Regions from separate parts of the Homo sapiens genome. Here regions 1, 3 and 4 are each linked to region 2. The links are contacts of gene promoters, found by promoter capture Hi-C in human tissues and cell types (Jung and others, 2019). All regions are on one chromosome and are shown on one strand. The core of a region is centred on a gene start or on the middle of the fragment in contact, and the rest is flanking DNA. Distances in the headings are between cores, read along the strand shown.

The links. The method cuts DNA at HindIII sites, captures the fragments that hold promoters and counts their contacts. A contact is called where the count stands out against the background at its distance.
Region 1: a contact is called between a fragment that was not itself captured here and the fragment with the promoter of IPO9 in region 2, in 3 of the 25 tissues and cell types used here (H1 embryonic stem cells, pancreas and thymus).
Region 3: a fragment that was not itself captured here is called in contact with the fragment with the promoter of IPO9 in region 2 in 1 of the 25 tissues and cell types used here (H1 embryonic stem cells).
Region 4: a contact is called between a fragment that was not itself captured here and the fragment with the promoter of IPO9 in region 2, in 1 of the 25 tissues and cell types used here (IMR-90 fibroblasts).

The regions. Positions count from the first base shown.
Region 1 is chr1:201,671,242-201,674,121 of GRCh38, reverse strand. The region is part of intron 5 of NAV1 (neuron navigator 1); the gene reads right to left. Among named protein-coding and RNA genes, the nearest start is that of MIR5191, 47 kb to the left of the region's middle. The HindIII fragment of the contact is 3,628 bases long and covers 1-2,880 here.
Region 2 is chr1:201,827,608-201,830,519 of GRCh38, reverse strand. It overlaps IPO9 (importin 9), which reads right to left and starts at 1,363. Exons shown (of 24, transcript NM_018085.5): 1 at 1,148-1,363. The coding sequence starts at 1,310. It overlaps IPO9-AS1 (IPO9 antisense RNA 1), which reads left to right and starts at 961. Exons shown (of 3, transcript NR_046696.1): 1 at 961-1,569. RefSeq lists enhancers at 1,064-1,273, 1,285-1,579, 1,736-2,249, 2,250-2,764 and a silencer at 1,324-1,563. The HindIII fragment of the contact is 5,409 bases long and covers 1-2,912 here.
Region 3 is chr1:201,647,430-201,650,129 of GRCh38, reverse strand. NAV1 (neuron navigator 1) reads right to left here. Exons shown (of 34, transcript NM_001389617.1): 5 at 705-1,496. It overlaps LOC124904482 (a long non-coding RNA gene), which reads left to right and starts at 2,146. Exons shown (of 2, transcript XR_007066789.1): 1 at 2,146-2,700. The HindIII fragment of the contact is 4,666 bases long and covers 1-2,700 here.
Region 4 is chr1:201,626,405-201,629,115 of GRCh38, reverse strand. All of the region lies in intron 3 of NAV1 (neuron navigator 1), which reads right to left. All of the region lies in intron 1 of LOC124904482 (a long non-coding RNA gene), which reads left to right. Among named protein-coding and RNA genes, the nearest start is that of NAV1, 89 kb to the right of the region's middle. RefSeq lists an enhancer at 178-679. The HindIII fragment of the contact is 6,549 bases long and covers 1-2,711 here.

The DNA.
Region 1 (2,880 bases), core at 253-2,752, 160 kb after region 2:
GAGGATTGAGGCCTTGGCTTGCTGTGGGGCATCTGGGCACCTGGACACCTGGGCTGGCCACCTGCCAGGCCTGGCAGCGAGGTCTTAGAGCAGTGGCTGGCGCAGTCCCCAACAGGACTGAGAAATGTTGGCTTAGGCTTTCCTAGTCTTTGGTTGCCGCTTCAAGGCACTGACTGGGCCCTACCTTCAGATGAAGCACCTTCTCCATGACTGCTGCCCTTCACGTTTGACCTCTTCTAAGAATCCTTCCCTAACTCTACCTGGCTTCAATAGCTTCTCTTCGACATTCTCTTGGTATTTATAGACTCAGTTTACAAAGTGCAACTCTTGGGCAATATTCCACATCTAGGCTCTAGACAAGGCTGCTATTCAACTGCTATGCCCCTTACAGTGCCCACGGCTACATACATTCTGTCCTATGCCTGTGCCTTCCCTTGTTAACGATCTGGGTCTTGAACTCTTCTGCCCTCTCTCCCACATCAGAATGGGGGCTCTCTGAGGGCAGGGCCTGTTCCTTGCGTTTGAATTTCTGCATTGAGCTTAGCTGAGGATGCAGAGGGATGGGGAGGTGAGAATGGCCAATGCTGAGAGTGGCCAATAGTAATGTGCCTGACCCTCCCAGCTGTGAAAAGGAGAAGAGAGATGTGAGGTCAATTTTCATTTTTTGGGAGGCTGACAATCTGGTCTGTAAATAATTGAGGCTGCTACTTCAGCTGTTTCACTGTCTCTCCATCTCCCATTTTACCACTCTCCAGCTACTATGCCAAGAGAAGAGAACAGAAATGAAATCTGATAAGTGTGTGCCTCCCACGACCATCCCTTATAGACGCACTCTCGCTCTGCTCGTAGATGCCGCGGCCCATCTGTGGGGCCTGCCTGCCCACGGGCCGGAAGTGTTGGACTCAAAAGCAATCCATCAAATGCGGAGACACATTTGCACTGTGTTCTGAAATACATTTTTAACTTTTATTGCATTCTCACAGAGCCTAAAACAATAAATTCATTAAAGAACAGCAAGAGTGTAGATTAAGCTCACTTTTCTATTTAGCCTGCAAAAAGAGGTGTGTTTAAAATTAACGGCAGTATTTTTTTTTGTAAAGACCAGAGTCAGGCTTTTCTTCGGTACTGCTTGCTGATTGGCCAGTGGGCAGAGTTCTACATGTGGGCCTAACATGCACCCCAAGGGCTTCAGTCGTCCCCACTGGCATCGCCATCAGTCTATGTGCGTCCACAGGGCAGTCGAGCTTGAGCGTCTGTTGGGCGGTAAGTTCTCAGAGCCCAGTCTGTTTGGCAGGTTTTTTACAACATGCAAACCAAGCTTGCCTTCCAGAAGCATCTGAGTCCTGCTCTGACCACAGGGACTTCTTATAGGCTTTCTTAGAGCATCATGTATATCCCTCTGCAAAGCCACCTTATTTCTATGACACCCTGAAAGGCAGCAGAGCCCAATGGTTAAACACACGGCGTCTTGAGTTCTGCCACTTACTAGCAGTAAGAGCTTAGATAAGGAACTTAACCTTTCTTTGCCTCAGGTTCCTGGCCCATAAAATGTGAATGATGATCACAATAACATCTACCTCATAGAAGGGCTGTGTGGGTTCACTGAACTATTATACATAAAGCACCCAGAACAGGGCCTGGCACAAAGAAATTGCTCTATTATCCAAAATCTGGGTAAACTGTCTTGACAACCAGTTCCCAGGGACTTTCTGTGCTTAGAAAGAAGGTTCTTTTAGGCCAGGGACTTTTCAAATTGCAGGCTGTAACTCATTTGTGGATCATGAAATCAATGTAGTGGATTGCAACCAGCAATTGAAAAAAAATTAGACCACATACAATACAATCAAGAAATCACACATACAAAAAACTTAAATATATTGTGCATAGTATTGTTTCATAAAACTTTTGACTCAGTATGTGTGTACTGAGTTTGCTGAAAAATGTATTTCTGACTTGGAGGATCAAGGTGGGAGAAAAAACGTTTCAAATACAGTGCTTTAGGCTGTTGTCAGTTAGTAGTGGCCTCAGTGTGAGTGAGTTCTTGGTTCAGTCCTGAGAGAAAGTAGAGAAGGAAGAAGAGAGAGGAAAGCTTTGGCAGGCTAAAGAGGAGAGACGGGACACTGCTGATAGAGTGGGAGTGGGAGAGAGGCCGGGATGCGGAGGATCAGGATGGCAGAGAGAGTCTTATATCTCTGACATTTTACCCTAAGCTGGGCCTGCTCCTTGTGGAGAAATGGAGCCTCTCTTTTAAGGTTTAACCTCGAGACAGCCTGACATTACTCACCAGAGATAGAAGCCAGCATCGGTATTGTGACCAGTGGCATGGTTCCCCATGGGAACTCCCAGACCAGAGCCCCTTATGGCCAGGTCTGCTGACCAGATAGCTAGGAGATTCTGTGAGAAATGCCCACTGCCTAGAGACCCAGCGTGCCCAGGGTCTGCATCTCCCAGTGACGTCCACCCAACGCTTAGGAGTGCAGGAGTTTTCACATTCATGATCTCATTTGGTCCTCCGCACAGCTTTTTGAGCTAGAAAGGGTAGAGCAAATATTATTCTCTATTTAGGAGAGATGAGCAAATTGAGGCCCCAGGAGGTAGAATGACTTGCTCAAGGTCATACTGTAGCACTGTTAGCCTCAGTGTCCACATTTTTCCCTGTTGGTCCAACAAAGTTCCATTTGCCCACTCTAACCTGTCTCATACCTGCTCAGAGGTATGTGTAGGTGGGGTGGGGCAGGAAGCAGGTATGGAGGGGAGGTGTCGGCTTTGAAGAGGGAGCACCTTAACATATCTGGAGCTCCTCAGTTCAGCCCGTAAAAAGGACATATGAAGAGGGATCAATGTCATACAGGGAGATGGCACACTGAGATTTAGCACTTG
Region 2 (2,912 bases), core at 114-2,613:
AAATGGTCCTTAGCCTGTTAGATCCCAAATCTTAACATATTTCCAACAGAAGAAAATTTGTTTTCAACAGCTCTTTCATACTGTGAAAGAATGTAAACTAAATTTAAGAGAGATTTGTTCTAAATTCTTTTCAATAGAAATACGTCCAGTAGGAGAGCTAACTGAAGGTTTTGAATATGATGGGTGTGTGATGGGACAATTTCCCATATCTCTGATGAAGTATTTAAGTGGTGGTGGAAATATTCCTGAGTTGGGAGATTCTGAGGATTTGGAGTTCCAGTGAAGCTCTGACCAGATATATTTCTTACACAAAGACCAAGAAGATTTCTCCTCCTGTTTCTGGATTAAATTGTTCTTTGTGGTAGCTACACTGGACCCGGTGAAAGGCTCACGCGGCAGGAAATTGATAGAAAATCTCGAACCAATGGTTTATTTTCTTCTCCATCACTTTAAAGCACACAATAGAGGACGGAGACAAAGAATCAAAAACAAAGGATGATCAGTTCCTCCAAACAGAAATGCACAAAGGTATTTAATAAGGGCAAATTATTTTTAAAATAAACGTTAAGTATGGTCAGGACAGTGAAGCAATCGCATATGCATTTAATTTCTGGGAAAACACGAAGAGTACAAACAACTAGCTAGGTTTATAACTCAGAGGCAGAAACTTGTTTGATGACATCTATTAAGCTTTGATAGCCGCCTTTTCGAGGCCCTACCCTTCACCACTCCTACTAATAGCTCCCCCTACTCTTATCCCAGTACAATCCAGCTGGTGAAGAGAACAGCGAAAGACTTTGGTCCTGGACTCAAAAAATATTTCCCCGACCGCGCTACTTCCTCCAACAGCACCAAGTCTAGCTCCATCTCCGTCCCCTGCAGATTCTAGGCTCCATCTATCTTTTCAAGTCTCCACCCTCCCTCCCCCACTCCCAGGCTCCACCTCCCCCGACCCTATCCTTCAGGCGCGCCTCTCCTCTCTCGGACTTTCACAACCACCAGCGACATCAATCTCTCGCTTCCTGCTCCACTTCTCGGCGCCCACATCTCCAACTGGCTCAGGCTCCCCATGTCCCCAGCCGGTACGGAGCTGCGGTCAGCGGATTGTGCGGCTGAGCCATCCTCGTGACGGTCCCGCCTCACTCACCCTCCGTCACCTCCAGCACCTTAATCTGTTCTTCAGCAGCCGCCCGCACCTCCTGTACTGGGGATAGGATCCCGGTGAGCGTATCCACTAACGCTTCCTTTAATCCTTGTGCCACTGGACCCGGCAGCCCGGAGGCCGCACCAGCTGCCGCCGCCGCCGCCATCTTTTCTCCCCTCAGCCCGCCAGCCCCGCGGCCGGGACCCGCCACCGAATGACGGCCCCCGCGCGCGGCCAATCCGCGAAGCCGCGCCTGCGCACCAGAGGCGGGCGGGAGCGGGCGGAGGGCGGGGAATGAATCTAAGCCTCCAGAGACAGCGCCTCCTGCTGCCTGAACGAGAACTGCACCTTTCTCTGCAAGGATCTCTGGATTTGTGTGAAAACTGAGCCCCAGACAGGTTAAGGGGCTTTCCTAAAGTTGCACAGTAAGTTAGCAATCTCATTTGGAATAAAGTTCATGATATATGACTTTATATTCATGCATCTTTCAGGTGTTAGGAGAGAGGAGGCGGGATGGGAATAGATGTAGAGGGCTTTAAGGAGAGAGGTCTGGGTCACAAATAGCCCCTATTTTAAACCACATTCTTTTCCCCCCAAACACTGAAAAAAAGTTGGCTCAAGTGACTCTCTTCATCTTAGCCTCAGGAATCCAAAGAGGGGGGAAAATAAACTAAAGCAAACTGGGAAGTGGAAGTGGGAAAACCACGGCCCAGTCCCTTGGTTTTCCAGCCTAGATGAGCCCAACCTCAAAGCTGGGAAGTGGCTGGGCAGGGGAGACACCGGCATGTGAAAGGGAGTTTCTTCCAGAGTGAGTGTTGTATGTGACTATTTGAGAATGAATCCTATTTGTTGAAAATGTATAAATTTTTTTCCCTGAGAAATTATGGCTGGACATTTAAGGGGTGCGAGAACAAGAGCAGTTTGATGATATGGTTGTCAGCAGCTGGTCGTGGGAAATGGCCTACGGTGCAGAGCCGCTCCTGAATAGCGGAGCAGGTGGAGAGGATGAGCGCTCCAGTGAGGTGTTAAAAATGCAGGGTGTGGCGAGGCGCAGTGGCTCACGCCTCTAATCCTAGCACTTTGGGAGGCCGAGGCAGGAGGATCGCTTGAGCCCAGGATTTCGAGAACAGCCTGGGCAACATAGCGAGACTTCGTCTCTACAAAAAAATACAAAAATTGCCCAGGCGTGGTGGCGTACGCCCTGTAGTCCCGGCTGTTCGGGAGGTGGAGGTGGGAAGATCACTTGAGCCCAGGAGGAGGAGGCTGCAGTGAGCAGTGATTGCGCCATTGCACTCCAGCCTGGGCGACAGAGTGACATCTTGTCTCAGAAAAAGAAGAAAAAGCAAGATGTAAGCCAAGGCAGGAGGATCACTTGAGCCCAGGAGTTCCAGGCTGTAGTGTGCTGTCATCACACCTATGAATAGCTACTGCATTCCAGTCTGGGCAAGATATACAGACTCTGTCTATAAAAAAAAATAAAAATTAAAAAAAATGCAGGGCAGAGTGGCAAGCATGTAGTGGCAGAAAGGATAGAATGTTGTTGGAATGGGAGGTTCTAGAGCAAACAGAAACAGGTATTTTTTAGTGAGCTGTTCAGGTTATGTGCCTTCAAAATGGTTCCCAGGAACCCTTATCAAGTGAGTTCATTCTCACATGGCAAAGGAAACGAGTTACCAAATCCTAGGTCACTTCCAAGACTGTGGATGCTGGACTGGTAACAATCAGGGATTAAGTCATCTCATCAGAAGATTACTTCAAAAGAAAGCTT
Region 3 (2,700 bases), core at 139-2,638, 180 kb after region 2:
ACAGGAGTCTCGGCGCTAACGCCCAGAGCTTTCGACACGCCCTAAAAGACCTGCGGGTGTAGGGGTTGGGGCCAGAGCCGGGGCTGAGGTATCGGACATGCGCCCAGATGCGCACAGCTGGCAGCCCGCCCGCCCCCGGCCCTAGACGCTTCTTTTAGCCAGAATCCTCACACCGCGGGGAAATCCGACTTGCGCTCCCACTCGGGATCCACAGAGGAAGTGGAGCCTCAGCTGTGTTCCGGGGCCAATCAGCCCTCACATCTGCTCTCCCACATCTGTCCTCTAGATCCGGGCTCTCGCTGGACGCTCCCCTTGCAATGCGGGATGCTCCTGTCAAGCGCAGGCCACACCACAACGGAGGTTTCCACCAGTCCCAGGTTTTGCCATATTGGGATTCTGGCTCTATTTCTGAGAGCCTGTAACCCCCTCACCCCCCATCCCATTGTCCAGCCTCACCTCGGGCAGGCCAGAGTCGAGCCCGGGTTCCCGCCTGTAATGTCTTTAAGAAGGTACACTTGAGCCATGCGCATCTGGAGGTGGGCCAGCTCAGCACATCTGGGCGCAATGCCCATCACAGCCTGATCGTGAACAGGAGGGCCCTCCGGGAAGGCGCAAGGGGAGGGGGCTTCGCTTTCCCCACACCTTCCCCAGCAGCTGGTTAGGAGAAAGCCAGGGGCGGGGCGGGGCGGGGCGGCAGGACTTACCCAGCATCTGGCTGAAGAGCAGCTGCTCCAGGTCTCCCAGCACGGTCACCACCAGCTCGGGGTCCACCTTGAGGAAGGCGCGCTCCTCCTGGCCCTTGGCAGAGGGGACAGGCCCAGAGCTCTTTTGCGCCTTGGCCTTGCTGGAGAGCAGCTCGTCGTCCGATTTGCCATCTTCGCTCACGGCCGCTTCAGGCGCCTTGCTGAGCGGCTTGACCTCCGCATAGGGTCCTCGAGGGATCCGGCTCGGCTTTCCCAGGTTGGGCGCGAGCGGAGCCAGGGGGGTCTTGGCGCCGCCCGCCGGGCTGCCCTTGGCCTGGAAGAGCGAGTGCTCCGACTTGGACAGCGTCTTGGACATCAGCGGAGCTTCACGGCCCTTGGACCCCACCTTGCCTAAGCCTTTGGGCGCCTTGGCCATATCGTCGCTCCATTCGGGCTCATAAAGCTGCAGCTTTTTCTCGGAGTCCGTGAGAAAAGAGAGGTTGGTGAGTGACTTCTGCTTGCGCAGGTTGGAGGCGGGCGGCCCGCCGGGGACACGGCTGTCCACGCTGCCGGACTTGAAGACCTTCAGCTCAGCCGCGCTGGCCTTGGCCATGCCGCCGCCGCCGCCGGGCGCCTTGGCGCGCTTGGGCAGCATGCCTCTGCCGTCCGCCGCTGCCGCCTTCCTGCCGGCGCCCCGCGGTTCGTCCGCGCCCTCGTCGCCGCCGCCGCTGCTCAGCTCCACCTCGGGCTGCACGCTCTTGACGCTGCTGCCCAGCATTCTGCCCGCGAGGAGCGCATGGACGATCCGCGCGTCTGCAGGCACGGGGGGAGGGGGCAGGGGGCGGGAGCGCAGGAGGAGGAGGCGGGGGAGGAGGAGGGGGAGAGAGAGGACGGAAGAAACCGAGGAAGAAGGGGAGAGAAGGGGGAGAGAGCGAGGGAGGAGGGAGAGAGGCAAGCCGAGGGCGCAGGGGAAAGAAACGCGAGGAAGGAAGCCGGGAAAAAGGAAAGAGCAGGGAAGCCGGGGAGCGATAGGGCGGGGTCGGAGGAAAAGGGGCGGGGCGGCGGGGAAAATACAAATTAAAATTTAAAAATCAGTCAAAGGAAGGATGGAAGCCCCGCGGCTCCTCCGGCGCCCAGCGGTGCTTTTGCTTTGGTGTCCGGATCCCAGCCCGCGGCCTGCCTGCCTGTCAGTCCCGTGGACACCGCACTGCCGGGCAGCGCCCCGGCCGCACTCAGCCAGCCAGCCAGCCCGAGTCGAGGCTGCAGGCTGCAGCTCCGAGCAGAGGAAGGAGGGAAGGGGAAGGCGGGGAGCAAACAGGAGGAGGGGAGCGAGTGTGCGCACGGGGAGGGAGGTGGGGGAGAGATAGTGTGTCTATTTCTGGCTCGGGAGGGGGAGGTATCTGCGAGCGGAGCTCCAGGGGCGGATGAGTGGGGGGTAGGGGGAAATAAAGGAAAAGCAGTTTTTCTCCCAGCTTTCCGCGTAGAAGCGGGGCGGGTTCTTGGATTCTCGGAGGGCACGGGGACCCCCTGCCGTGTCCAGGATAAAGATCTGTTGAGGAGGTGTGGAGGTGCAGGTAAAAGAGACGGAGGGAGGGCGGCTCAGAATGCGGGAGGGAAAGTGGGCCCGTGGGCCTGAGAGAGATGTCGGGAGAGGGGTGGAGGAATGGTATCCAGGGTGCTCATTCCCCTCCCCCAACCCCAAACCGTCTTTGGTTTTCCCCCAGGAAACTCCCAGTCCCGCCCTACTTCAGTCTCTGAGGCTCAAGGTTGCCCTCCTGAGCCCAGGAGGTAGGGGATGGGGGTAGGACACGGGTGGCTTGGAGAGAAGGGGCCTAGCGTTGACTGGGGAGGGGGCTGAGGGCTTTGTAGGGGAAGGAGTAACTCTTGAGATCAGGAAACTGGGTTTCTATTCCAATTAGCAATGTGACCTTGTCAAAGTCATTGAACCCCTCTGGTTCTGTTTTCTTTTATAGTGGTTATAATACCAGCTTCACAGGTAGAAGGGCTTTGGAACTGT
Region 4 (2,711 bases), core at 198-2,697, 200 kb after region 2:
ATCACTTATAGGGCAGAGGGATACCCTAGCAACTCCAGGCCTTGGGTCCTTTGTCTTGCCAGGATCCTTGCCCTCAGGATGAGCATGTATGTACAGCCATGTACATATACACAGGGAAGAGCTCCCTCTGAAGCTGAAGTCACTGATTCCTGGTAGCTCAGGGGGCACACAGGCTTTGGGCTTGCTCGTAGTCCAGGCAGCTTGTAGGTCAGGAAAGAAGGAGGAGTAGGCTCAGCTGCAATCACAGTGACTCCCGGGAGGACAGGTCTCTTGCTGGGCCCGTTGTGGTAGCAGGAAGGAAGGGTGAGGTCTCTGGGCACCAGCTCCCAAGTGCACACAGACCTCTGAGCACAACCTCAACCGTACAGTTGCTCCCAGGAACAAAGGCTGTGGGAGCTTTCATTATAGGCAATTACCCTAGGCTCTGGGAGCTGGCCCGCCCACCCATCCGCCCGCTGTCTCCAGCTAAATGGAGACTTTGGCAGCTTGGCAGGAGGGGGAGGGGAGGGCTGTGCAGGCAGGAGGGGAAATTGAAGGGCTGGGCCATGGAACCCTGAGAGTCTCCAGTGCCACTGAGATTTGTCTTTCTCTCTCTCCAGTTTTCACTTTTTTCAATGCCTAGATGGCCGGGACTCTGGGCTCAATTTTGCCATTAACTCACTGTATAACCTGGAGTAGATCTCTTCTCCTCTCTGGGTCCGGCTTCCATCATGGGGTGAAAAGATGCCCCTCAAGGCTGGGATCTGTTTTACAGTCTAGGGTTGTGAGGTGTTTGCTGCTTCTGCTCAGCTTTTTCTAAGCTATTTAGGCAGTGCTGAGCTCTTTTGTATCTCAGGCCCCTCAGGTGAATGATGGGGATAGTGCAGGGTGGGGTGTCGTTAGAGAAAGCAGGAGGCCTCATCCTGGCCCCTGGGGGTGCTTGGTATGATGGGGACAATCGCCATGTACTACTGTCTCTCTTTTTTTTTTTTTTTTTTGACACAGGGTCTCACTGTGTCACTCAGGCTGGAGCACAGTGGTATGATCAAGGCTCACTACAGCCTTGATTTCCTGAGCTTAAATGATCCTCCCACCTCAGCCTCTCAAGTAGCTGGGATTACAGGCTCAAGCTACCACGCCTAGCTGATTTTCATATTTTTTGTAGAGATGGGGTTTTGCCATGTCGCCCAGGCTGGTCTCGAACTCCTGAGCTCGAGATCTGCCCACCTCAGCCTCTCAAAGTGCTGGAATTACAGGTGTGAGCCACTGCACCAGGCTCTTATTGTCAATTAAATGTCTGTCCAAGTACACAAGTGCCAAGGGGATAAAGAAAGACTGGGGTTGGTTGGTTTCTTGGAAGAAATTAGAATGGACCTGGGATTTTGAAGTAGGGGATGCAACATATTGGTGAGAAAGTAACAGAAAATTCTACTGGGGAGAGGGAATTCTATATAATGTGTCAACTGTTTCATTGATTAACATCATATATGTAAAGAGCTAAGCACAGCGTCTGGGCCAGAGCAGGTATGCAATAACCAGTGTTAAAAATAAGAATAGGCAGACGGGTGCAGTGGCTCATTTCTATAATCCCAGTACTTAGGGTGGGGGGGCCGGGGCGGATGGATCACTTGAAGTCAGGAGTTTGAGACCAGCCTGGCAAACATGGCGAAACCCCGCCTCTACTAAAAATACAAAAATTAGCCAGGCTTGGTGGTGCATGCCTGTAATCTCAGCTACTCGGGAGGCTGAGGCAGGAGGATCGCTTGAACCAGGGAGGTGGATGTTGCAGTGAGCCGAGATCGTGCTACTGCACTCCAGCCTGGGCGACAGAGTGAGACTCCATTTCAAAAAAAAAAAGAAAAAGAAAAATAGGAATAGGCCAGGGTGGTGGCTCACAACTGTTAATCCCAGAGCTTTGGAAGGCCGAGGCAGGAGAATTGTTTGAGCCCAAAAGTTTGAGGTTACAGTGAGCTATGACTGTGCCACTGCACCCCAGCCTGGGGAACAAAGCAAGAATCTGTCTCCAGTAAATAAATTAAAGACTAAAAACAAAAAAAGAAATAGTTACAGTCACGATTGTTGCTGCCATTAATATGATGCAAGAGTGGGTGAGGTTACATCAGTCATATGGGCCAGAAACTCCAATGGCAGAAACATTGAGGAAGGCAGGCTTTATCTCTAATTTCAGTCAGCTCTGTATTTTTATCCACATCTGCCTCCATCTCTCCAAACATGGCCAGGCCTCCATGTCCGCCCTCACTTCTCAGCCTGAGTGGACAGCACTCTGTATGCCAGAAGTCAGGCAGAGGTTGAACCAGAGAGAAGAAAATTGCAGTAGTGACACCAGTAACCCTACGCTCCTGATACCATTAACCATAGTTCCAATTGAAGTCCAACCCAAGGCCCACCCAATGCAGGAAGAAGAGAACTGTTGGGGGTTAGGGAGGTGGTAAAGGGTGCACTGGCAGTTGGGAAAAGTCAGCAAGGGCTGTGGTGAAGCTGCTGTGGCTCTCTTCCAGGATAGCAGAGAGGGATGAGGTTGAGGATGTGATGGAATTAGATGTGTGAGACCAGGGTCTCCTGAGAGCGGACAGGGGATTGCACCTTCTCTGGGTCCAAAGGGAAGTGATGGATGAGAGGAGACAAGCTTCACTGGGAAGGCCACACCAAGGCCCTTGAAAAGAGAGGGCTGTGGAGGATGGGGCAGGGGAGAAGATGGCTGCAAGATTCAT